Regions from separate parts of the Homo sapiens genome. Here region 2 is linked to region 1. The links are contacts of gene promoters, found by promoter capture Hi-C in human tissues and cell types (Jung and others, 2019). All regions are on one chromosome and are shown on one strand. The core of a region is centred on a gene start or on the middle of the fragment in contact, and the rest is flanking DNA. Distances in the headings are between cores, read along the strand shown. Region 1 holds the start of CD70 (CD70 molecule). Region 2 overlaps LOC124904625 (a long non-coding RNA gene).

What was found. The method cuts DNA at HindIII sites, captures the fragments that hold promoters and counts their contacts. A contact is called where the count stands out against the background at its distance.
Region 2: a fragment that was not itself captured here is called in contact with the fragment with the promoter of CD70 in region 1 in 1 of the 25 tissues and cell types used here (ovary).

Annotation. Positions count from the first base shown.
Region 1 is chr19:6,588,842-6,593,825 of GRCh38, forward strand. It overlaps CD70 (CD70 molecule), which reads right to left and starts at 2,309. Exons shown (of 3, transcript NM_001252.5): 1 at 2,000-2,309; 2 at 1,262-1,295. The coding sequence starts at 2,161. It also overlaps the pseudogene RPL7P50. RefSeq lists enhancers at 1-30, 1,209-1,578, 2,079-2,478, 3,549-4,008, 4,029-4,128. The HindIII fragment of the contact is 16,779 bases long and covers 1,699-4,984 here.
Region 2 is chr19:7,093,641-7,099,276 of GRCh38, forward strand. All of the region lies in intron 1 of LOC124904625 (a long non-coding RNA gene), which reads right to left. Among named protein-coding and RNA genes, the nearest start is that of ZNF557, 27 kb to the left of the region's middle. RefSeq lists a silencer at 5,629-5,636. The HindIII fragment of the contact is 4,002 bases long and covers 1-3,869 here.

The DNA.
Region 1 (4,984 bases), core at 1,059-3,558:
TAGAAGGGAAGCTCACCAGGCAGGGATTTCTGTCTGTTTTGTGCGCGACTGCAGTACCGGAACAGTGCCTGCCCACTGCAGATGTATAATTAGTGCTTGTAGCATGAATGGAGGAAGGGTAGCCTTTCCTGTGAGCGTTTTCGTTTACTAACAAAACCCCTTTGATTCTTCCAAGGGAGGAGATCGAATGTGAAGGACTGAGAGGGAAAGGGAGAGAAAGGTAGTGGATGCCCAGAAACACAAACCTGCTCGCTCTCTCTCTCCTCTCTCTCTCTCTCGTTCTCTCCCTTTTCCTTTTTCTCTTGGGAATGATCTCTTTCTCCCCCGCCCTGTTTTTCTTCTTCCCCCTCTCTGTCTCTGTCTCTTCCTCTCTGTTATTCTCCTTCTCTTTTCCTCTCTCTGGCTTTCTTTCTTTTCTTTCTCTTATTTCTTTTTTTCTCTTTCTTCTTTCTTTTTCCTTTCTCTCTCTCTCACCTCCCTCCCTCTCTCCTTCCTTCCTTCTTCTCTTTCTTTTCCTTCCTTCCTTTCTTTCTTTTTCTTTTCCTTTCTTCTTTTTATTTATTTATTTGACAGAATCTCCCTCTGTCACCCAGGCTGGAGAGCAGTGCCATTATCTTGGCTCACTGCAACTTCTGCCTCCCAGGTTCAGGCGATTCTCCTGCCTCGGCCTCCTGAGTAGCTGGGATTACAGGTGCCTGCCACCACACCCGGCTAATTTTTGTAATTTTAGTAGAGACGGGGTTTCACCATGTTGGCCAGGCTGGTCTCAAACTCCTGGGCTCAAGTGATCCACCCGCCGCGCCCTCCGAAAGCGCTGGGATTACAGGCTCCAGCAACCACGCCAGGTCGCCTCTCTCGTTTTTATTCTCTCTTCCTCTATCTGTCTTTTTTCTCTTTCTCCGTCTCTCTCCCTCTCTCTCGTTCTGTCTCCCCCGCCTGTCTCCCTCCCTCCCTCTTCCACTCTCCCTGCGTCTCTCCCTGTTTCTTTCTTTCCCCTTCTTCTCCTGTCCCGTCTGTCCCCTCTGTCCCTCTCTCTGTTCTTTTTTCTGTCTCTCCCTCCCTTTCTCTGGGCCTCTCCCTCCCTCTCTGTCTTCTCTCTGTCTCCCCCTCTCCGTTTCCCTCCCTATCTCTCCCTCCCTCTCTCCCTCCGTCTCTGTCTGTGTCTCTTTCTCTCTGTCTCTCCCCACTTGTCTTTCTACCTCTCCTTCCTTCTCTCTCTGTGCCTCTTCTTCTCCCCGTCCCTCCACGTCCCCCGTGTTACCTGTGTGATTCAGCTGCAGCTCAGCTACGTCCCACTGGAAGAAAAGACCAGAAAACAGGGCACGGACGTAAGCAGAGAGGTTCTATGTGTCCCCTGTGCCAGGAGCTCTCTTTTCTCTGTCCATCCTCCTTTCCACCTCTCATCCCACGGCGCGCACTGGTGATTTTATTTCATTTTATTTTTTTTTACTCTTAAGACTTCTTAAAGAGGAAGCAGGTCTGAACCAGCGGGGAACGTGAAGTCGAGACCTTCAAAAGAACTTCTTCGTTTCCCGAATCGTTTTCCTGGATGTCACTGGGCGCGAGAGCACCGCGCGCAGCGGACTCTCTACGCTGCAAAGGCGCCCGGCGCGGTCCCCAAAGGGACCCCTCCCCCACCCGGAGCGAGTGGCTGGGGCCATCCCGTCCTAGGAGGCCCCAGGAAGCCCCCACGCCCAGCCTTGTGAAGCCCCCAGCAGCCTCTGAGTCAGCCTGCCGGGGGAACACCAGAGCCGAGTCATCTTCCATTTCCATGTGTGCCTACCTTTCCCATCCCGGGATCTCCCTGTACCTCCTGGCAGGGCTGCCTGTCTCGTAGCCCCTACACCGGGCAGCCTGGTCCCCGCCTCGCCTCCCTGTTCTGGTCTCTGTCTCTGCCCTACCAGATCTTCCTCTCTGGCCTCTTTGTACCCATCTCATTCTGTCTTTTCGGTCACGCGCCTCTCTATGTTTTCTTCCCAACTTTTCCATCTCAACTCACCCCAAGTGACTCGAGCGGCAGCTGCTGCTGAGCCTGTGCGAAGCGCTGGATGCACACCACGAGGCAGATCACCAAGCCCGCGACCAATGGGACCAAAGCAGCCCGCAGGACGCACCCATAGGGCCTGCGCCGCACCGAGCAGCCCGAACCCTCCTCCGGCATCGCCGCGGCGATCACCTCCGCTAGCGCAGGAGGGGCGATGGGGGCGCGGAGCGCTGCCGAGAAGGAAGGAAGGAAACTGCAGCCCCCTCCCGGGGCTCCTGGGCGTCTACTTGCTTCAACCTGTCAGGGGACCAGCCTGCCCCTCTCTGGGGATGTCCGGCCGGTCGAGGGGAGGGACTTGAGCAATTGGCGAGGGGAAATTCCCTCCAACCGCTGCCAGTCTGAAGATCCTAAAGTGGGTGGAGGCAGTTGCCAGGATGCAGGCAGTGGCCCCGGGTGAGCCTCAGAGTTGCCTGCCCCCAACCCCTCCCCGCCCGACCTTCAGGCAGGAGACATTCAATCTTCCTATTCCCCTCTCCACCTCATTCTTCTGGGGCCCATTCATTTATTCAACAAACCTCCACTGCACATTTATTAGGGATTAGATTGTGCTGTGCACTGGGGATACAGCAGACATCCAAGAATTGGGGGTGCTCCCCAAATATTCGTGTACCCCTCTCCTGCATTTTTTTGATTTGTTTTGTTTTTGAGACGGAGGTCTCCCTCTGTCACCCAGGCTGGAGTGCAGTGGCGCCATCTCAGCTCGCCGCAACCTCGATCTCCTGGGTTCAAGCGATTCTCCTGTCTGAGCCTCGCGAGTAGCTGGGAGTAACATGCGCGCGCCACCATGCCTGGCTAATTTTTTGTATTTTTAGTAGAGATGGGGTTTCACCATGTTGGCCAGGCTGGACTTGAACTCCTGACCTTGGGTGATCCACCCGCCTTGGCCTTCCAAAGTGCTGGGATTAAAGGCATGAGACACTGCACCCGGTCAGTTATCTCCTGCATTCTTGGAGACCACCTGCTTTTTTGTTTAAAGTTAAATTAAGTTAATATTTTTATTTTTTATTTTTATTTTATTTTATTATTTATTTTTTTTTTTTTTGAGACAGAGTCTCGCTCTGTCGCCCAGGCTGGAGTGCAGTGGCGCCATCTCGGCTCACTGCAAGCTCCGCCTCCCGGGTTCACGCCATTCTCCTGCCTCAGCCTCTCAAGTAGCTGGGACTACAGGCGCCCGCCACCACGCCCGGCTAACTTTTTGTATTTTTAGTAGAGATGGGTTTTCACCATGTTAGCGAGGATGGTCTCCATCTCCTGACCTCGTGATCTGCCCGCCTTGGCCTCCCAAAGTGCTGGGATTACAGGCGTGAGCCGCCGCGCCCGGCCTAAATTAATATTTTTAGAGACAGAGTGTTGCTCTGTTGCCCAGGCTGGATGCAGTGGCGCCACACAGCTCACAGCAGCCTCAAACTCCTGGGCTTCAGTGACCCTCCCATCTCAGCCTTTTGCATAGTTGGGTCTACCAGCACACGCTACCATGCCCGGCTAATTTTTTTTTTGGGGGGGGTAGAGGATAGGGTGTTACTATGTTACCAGGCTGGTCTCAAACATCTGGGCTCAAGCGATCCTGCTGCGTAGGTCCCCCAAAGTGCCGGGATGACAGGTGTGAGCCACCGCATCCAGCCTCCTGCTGCTGTTCTCGATGGCTGTAGTGGGTTAACGGTGTCCTCCCAGAATTCATGGCCTCCTGGAACTGCAGAATATGACCTCATTTTGAAATTACGGGGTTTTTTTTGCAGATATAATTAGGCTTAAATGAGGTCATACTGGATTAGAGTGGGCCCTCAGGTGGAGAGAAAAGAGGCTCATAGAGAAGGAGCCGTGTGAAAACAGAAACAGAAACTGAATGAGGCAGATGAAAGTCAAGAAACACCAAGAAGGAGCCAGGCGCAGTGGCTCACGCCTGTAATCCCAGCACTTTGGGAGGCTGAGGCAGGCGGATCACTTGATATCAGGAGTTTGAGACCCTCCTGGCTAACACGGTGAAACCCCCGTCTCTACTAAAAATACAAAAAATTAGCCGGGCATGGTGGCGGGCGCCTGTAGTCCCAGCTACTCAGGAGGCTGAGGCAGGAGAATGGCGTGAACCCGGGAGGTGGAGCTTGCAGTGAGCCGAGATCACGCCACTGAACTCCAGCCTGGGTGACAGAGTGAGACTCCGTCTCAAAAAAAAAAAAAAAAGAGTTGGAGACCAGCCTGGCCAACATGGTGGAACCCCATCTCTACTAAAAATTCAAAAAATAGCTGGGTGTGGTGGTGGGCACCTTTAATCCCAGCTACTCAGGAAGCTGAGGCAGGAGAATCGCTCAAACCCGGGAGGCAGAGGTTGCAGTGAGCCGAGATCACACCATTGCACTCCAGCCTGGGTGACAGAGCGAGACTCTGTCTTAAAAATATATATATTTTTTAAAAAGAGGATCCAGCCTCTTTTTCCGGCTGGAACCATGGAGGGTGTAGAAGAGAAGAAGAAGGAAGTTCCCGCTGTGCCAGAAACCCCTAAGAAAAAGCGAAGGAATTTCACAGAGCTGAAGACCAAGCGCCTGAGAAAGAAGTTTGCCCAAAAGATGCTTCGAAAGGCAAGGAGGAAGCTTATCTATGAAAAATTGAAGCACTATCACAAGGAATATAGGCAGAGGTACAGAACTGAAATTCGAATGGAAAAGATGTCAAGAAAAGCTGGCAACTTCTATGAACCTGCAGAATCCAGACTGGCGTTTGTCATCAGGATCAGAGGTATCGATGGTGTGAGCCCAAAGGTCCGAAATGTGTTGCAGCTTCTTTGCCTTTGTCAAATCTTCAATGGAACCTTTGTGAAGGCCAATTAACATGCTGAGGATTGTAGAGCCATACATTGCATGCGGGTACCTAAATCTGAAGTCAGTAAATAAACTAATCTACAAGCGTGGTTATGGCAAAATCAATAAGAAACGAATTGCTTTGACA
Region 2 (5,636 bases), core at 619-3,118, 500 kb after region 1:
CCAGTGCCTTTGTTTCAATGTAGGACACCCCTGAAGGGCAACCCCAGCACCAGAACTCCCTGTGGGATCGACGGCAGCCTCAGTTGACAAGTTACATGTCAGCCTCATCTGTCCCCTCCGCTTCTCGCATGCCTTTAAAGATGTTGTTCCCAGGAGTTTTATCCAATAAACAAAAAATTGCCAGCACAAAATCTGTTCCCAGAAAACCTGATCCGAGATAAGATCACTCTATCAGGGTAAAGAATCCATTCAGGGCCGGTCTCAGGAGATCGAGACCATCCTGGCTAACACAGTGAAACCCTGTCTGTACTAAAAATACAAAAAATTAGCCGGGCGTGGTGGCGGGCGCCTGTAGTCCCAGCTACTCAGGAGGCTGAGGCAGGAGAATGGCGTGAACCCGGGAGGCAGAGCTTTCAGTGAGCCGAGATCGCGCCGCTGCACTCCAGCCTGGGCGACAGAGTGAGACTCCATCCCAAAAAAAAATAAAAATAAAAATCCATTCAGATAAGGGACTGGCAGAGAGAAAGCAGAATGTGGAATGGATGTGGAAGAATTAAATTCAGTCCTGAAGACCAGGTCCCAAAGCAGGAATAGAAGACAGCTATGCTTTGGGTTTGGGTTTTTTAAAAAATCTTTAATTTTTTCCGCTTTTTCCCTGGTTCCCCACCACCACCATCACCATTTTATATGAAGAGTCCTGGTTGTGGCCAAAGCTTAAGGTTTCTGATGGGAATACGACCAAATGACATTATCCCAACAGTAGCTTCCTTTGTATCTCTTTTTTTTTTTTTTTTTTTTTGAGATGGAGTCTCACTCTGTCACACAGGCTGGAGTGCAATGGTGCCATCTCTGCTCACTACAACCTCCGCCTCCTGGATTCAAGCGACTCTCCTGCTTCAGCCTCCCGAGTAGCTGGGACTACAGGCACACGCCAGCACACCCGGCTAATTTTTGTATTTTTAGTAGAGATGGGGTTTCACTATGTTGGCCAGGCTGGTCTTGAATTCTTGACCTTGTGATCCGCCCACCTCGGCCTCCCAAAGTGCTAGGATTACAGGCGGGAGCCACCGCGCCCGGCCCCCTTTGTATCTTATGTAGGGACATGAACTTAGCGCCAAGTGAAGGACAAGAATTGATATCCAAAATCCAATAGATTTTTCTTTTAAATACCTGAAAGTGAAACTGGCCCAATTTTCCCATATTGCTGATGTTTATGGTTTCCTTGAATAAACAAACAAATTGATCTTCCCAATCTTAAAACTTAAGAAAGTTACATTTATCTTATCTGAGTTCCTTTCTCAGGAAACCAACCATCAGGCCTCCCAGATAGTATCTAGGAGCTGAAACGCACCAGAATACTGCATTTGTACAGTGAGACATCAGACCCATCACCCATCATGATTGCCTAACTGACCACCTGCTTCCTGTTGACCAACTCCTCTTCCTTACCCTTCCCTAATTCCTGTATTCCCACACATGGTAACATTTCTTCCCTGCTATATAAACCTCAAATTTTAGTTGGTCAGGGAGATGGATTTGAGATTGTTCTCCCACCTCCTCAGCTGCAGCAGCTGATTAAAGCCTTCTTCCTTGGCAATACTCATTGTCTCAGCGATAGGCTTTCTGTGCAGTGGTGAGCAGCAGGACCTAGATTGAACCCCTGGTGTTTCAGCAACAACATAGTTCATCACCAGCAGAACTGCACTTCAAGAAACACTAAAGAAAGTTTTGGGCCAGACACGGTGGCTCACACCTGTAATCCCAGCATTTTGGGAGGCTGAGGCAGGTGGATCACCTGAGGTCAGGAGTTCGAGACAAGGCTGGCCAACATGGCAAAACCCCATCTCTGCTAAAACTACAAAAAAAAAAAAAAATTAGCTGGGCGTAGTGGCGGTCGCCTATAATCCCAGCTACTTGGGAGGCTGAGGCAGGAGAATTGCTTGAACCCAGGAGGTGGAGGTTGCAGTGAGCTGAGATCGCACCGTTGCTTTCCAGCCTGGGCGATGGAGCGAGACTCTGTCTCAAAAAAAAAAAAGAAGGAAGGAGGGAGGGAGGGAAGGAAGGAAGGAAGGAAGGAGAAGGAAAGAAAGAAGGAAAGTTTTGGGGCTGGAGGAAAATTATTCCATGTGGAAGCAATTCCAGAAATATATAAGGATAATCAGGAAAGATAAAATGTGAGCAAATACAAATAAATATTGACTGTATAAATCAAGCCTGTATAGTTTTAACACTTTTATACGTCTAAATCTTTTTTTTTTTTTCAGACGGAGTCTCACTCTGTTGCCCACACTCACCTCACTGCAACTTCCGCCTCCTGGGTTCAAGCAATTCTCTTGCCTCAGCCTCCAAGTAGCTGCAACTACAGGTGTGCACCACCACGCCCAGCTAATTTTTGTATTTTTAGTAGAGATGGGGTTTCGCCATGGTGACCAGGCTGGTCTCAAACTCCTGACCTCAAGTGATCCATCTGCCTTGGCCTCCCAAAAGTGTTAGGATTATAGGCGTGAGCCAACGTGCCCAGCCCTAATTTTTTTTTTTTTTCAAATAAAAAGAGTTTTAAATCACATTGAACTGGTCCCTTAAAACTAGAGATAATAGAAAGCATGGCAAGCCATTTCCCAGTCCCCCTAAGACTAGAGATTATGGAAGCCCCAGCAAGTGATTCTCACAATCTGCATACAGCAGTAGAGCTGACAGAAGCCCTAGCAGGTAACCACCAGTCACCCTCAAAACAAGAGGCAACAGGATGCCAGATCTCCACCCCTCAATCACTTACAAACACAAAAGATGGAGTCCAAACATGAAGACCTCCGTCATCGCGAAACTACTCCAGCAAGCACCCCTCAGTCACGTCCAAAACTATAACAGAAGTCCCTGAAATGACCCCTTCAGATGCCCCTCAACACTAAAGAATGGGGACTCCAAGCCCAATGGCCTACCCAGTCTATACCAACAGTACAGGCAAGCGGAGACCCAGAATATGACCCTCCCCAACTAGAGATAAGTGGAACCCCATCCAATAATCCCTCCATCCTCTCCCCAAACAATACACAGTAAGGCCTCTATCTGATAAATGCTCTTGACCCTTCAACACTAGAAAAAAATGGAAGCCCCAGGCACTGGCCCTCCAGTTACCTCCAACATCAGAGACAATGAAAGCTTCGCCAAGTGATTCCCCGTATCGCTCCTACATTAATGATGGAAACTCCAAAAACCAATCAACCCTCAATCCTCTACACACTCAAGAAAGGAACTCCAGGCTGGGTATGGTGGCTCACGCCTGTAATCCCAGCACTTTGGGAGGCCAAGGCGGGTGGATCACGAGATCAGGAGTTCGAGACCAGCCTGACCAATATGGTGAAACCGTCTCTACTAAAAATACAAAAATTAGCCGGGCGTGGTGACACGTGCCTGTAGTCCTAGCTACTCAGGAGACTGAGGCAGGAGAATCTCTTGAACCCGGGAGGCAGAGTTTGCAGTGAGCCAAGATCACACCACTGCGCTCAAGCCTGGGAGACAGAGCAAGATTCTGTCTCAAAAAAAAAAAAAAAAAAAAAAAGAACTCCAGCAAATGCCACCATTCTTACCCACTACCGCTGCAACATGCATCCCTTGTCTTCCCAAGACTATAAATAAGTATCCCCAGCAATGACACCCAAAACAAGCAATGGTCAGAATCTCAACAGGCAGCCCCCCAGATTCTACAACATAAGTGACAAACTCATACCCCAGAAAACTATCTCTCTTCCCATTATCCCAAAGTAAGAGTTAATAGAAGCATCAGCAAGCAACACCCTTAACATAAACGAGGAGGGGAGCCCAGAATGCAAATCCCGTCTCCCCCAACATGAGTTGACTGCCCCTGCGGTGACCCCTCCTTTATCCCAAACACAAGGAATAATCTTAGCCCCAGCAGGCAACTCCTGCAGCCTCCCCTTGCAATATGAGTATCTCTACCCTCACAATATAGATTGATAGAGCCCTATCAAGCCAAGTGTCCCCTGCTAGGGGAATGTTGGGTACTCCAGTCTCAGAACATGGAAGACGATGGTAGTCCTGACAAGCTGGCAAATACTCTAAGCTCCCATAATACAGGAGGTGATACAGCCCAGCAAGCAAACCTTCCAACATTTCCTGCACCCAGCAGACCCTTATCAGCTGCATTCCCAGTTGACTCTCAGAGCATCTCCTGCTCGCTCACTAGAAGCAAAGAAAGACTAGAGTTGGGGGTAAGGCTGAGAGGAAGAGAGAGGGGAGAAGGGTAAAAGAAAGAGAAGAGGGGGAAAGGAGACCTTCCAAGTTGTTCTAAACCCGGCCATGAATTCCAGATGCCTCAAACAGCTACAATCAGATCAGGCACTCCAGCACAAAAAAAGAGATTCCGGGCTGATGAAAAGAGGTGGTCTGAAGGAAAGGTGGGTGTGTTGACTAGCCTTCAGAATGCTCACCAAAGACCCTTGCCACCTGATATTCCTGTCCTGTGTACCCCACCTCCAATATTGAATCATACACGACCCATATGATCAATACAGCACTGTTGCATGTGACATCTGAGGCTAGGTCATAAGACACACTGAAGCTTCCTCCTTGGTCTCTTCTATTGCTCTTTCTCTAGGAGAAGCCATCCGCCATGCCATGAGGAGACTCAAGCAGCCCCGTAACCAGTAACCAACTCACCAGCACCACATTGCTAGCCAGGGGATGAGCCACCTTAGATCTTCCAGCCCCAAATTTTGAACTCTAATTAATGATATGTAAGCTATCTGCAACCTACTTCAAAATGCATTTAAAAAGATGAATTGATGGATGATACAGAGATGTATATGACAAAGTATAGTAAAATGTTACTGATGAATGTTCCTGTACATTTTTTCAAAAATTATTTCCATGCTTGAACATTGCTCATAATAATTTGTTAGTATTCAAGAACTCCTACGAAGCAGTAAGAGAAAGACCAAGAGTTAATTAGAGAAAGGAGCAAATGCTAACAACAGTTCACAGAAATACAAGTGGCTCTCCTAAGAAAAATGGGAAGTAATACATTGAGATTCCCTTTTTCATTGATCAGGAATTTTTTTCTTTTAAAAAGATAACAGATTGACCAGGATGTGGAGACACTGGCACCTCCATATCATAATGACGGGAACTCAATTAGTGCAACTCCCCCGGACTAAGACAAGGACCCAACCAGACCCAGAGCCACGCCGAGCCCAGGGTGCCATGGGGAGACGCGGAAAGAGCCGAACTGAAGCGGCGAAATCGGAGAAAACTGAAGCCGGGCGGAGAAAGCCGAACTGAACGAACTGAGCCGAGGAGCGGCGGAGAAGCCAAGGCTGGGCGAGGGGAGCCAAAGACGGGTGGTGGGAGCCGAGGTCGGCCGAGAGGAACCGGAAAAGCCAAGGCCAATGGGAGGAGCCGAGGCCAGGCGGGAGGAGCCGAGCAGGGCCGAAAAGCAGCGGGAAGGGCGGCGGAGAAGCCGAGCCATGGCCAGGACGGAGGGAGGGGAAGTTTCAGGTCGGAGACAGAGAGGGACAGGCAGCGCCATGGTAGGACGCCAGGCGAGGACGGATGGGGAAGCCGAAGCTGGGCGGAAAGAGCCGAAGCCAGGCGCGAAGGAAGCCGAAGCTGGGCGGGGG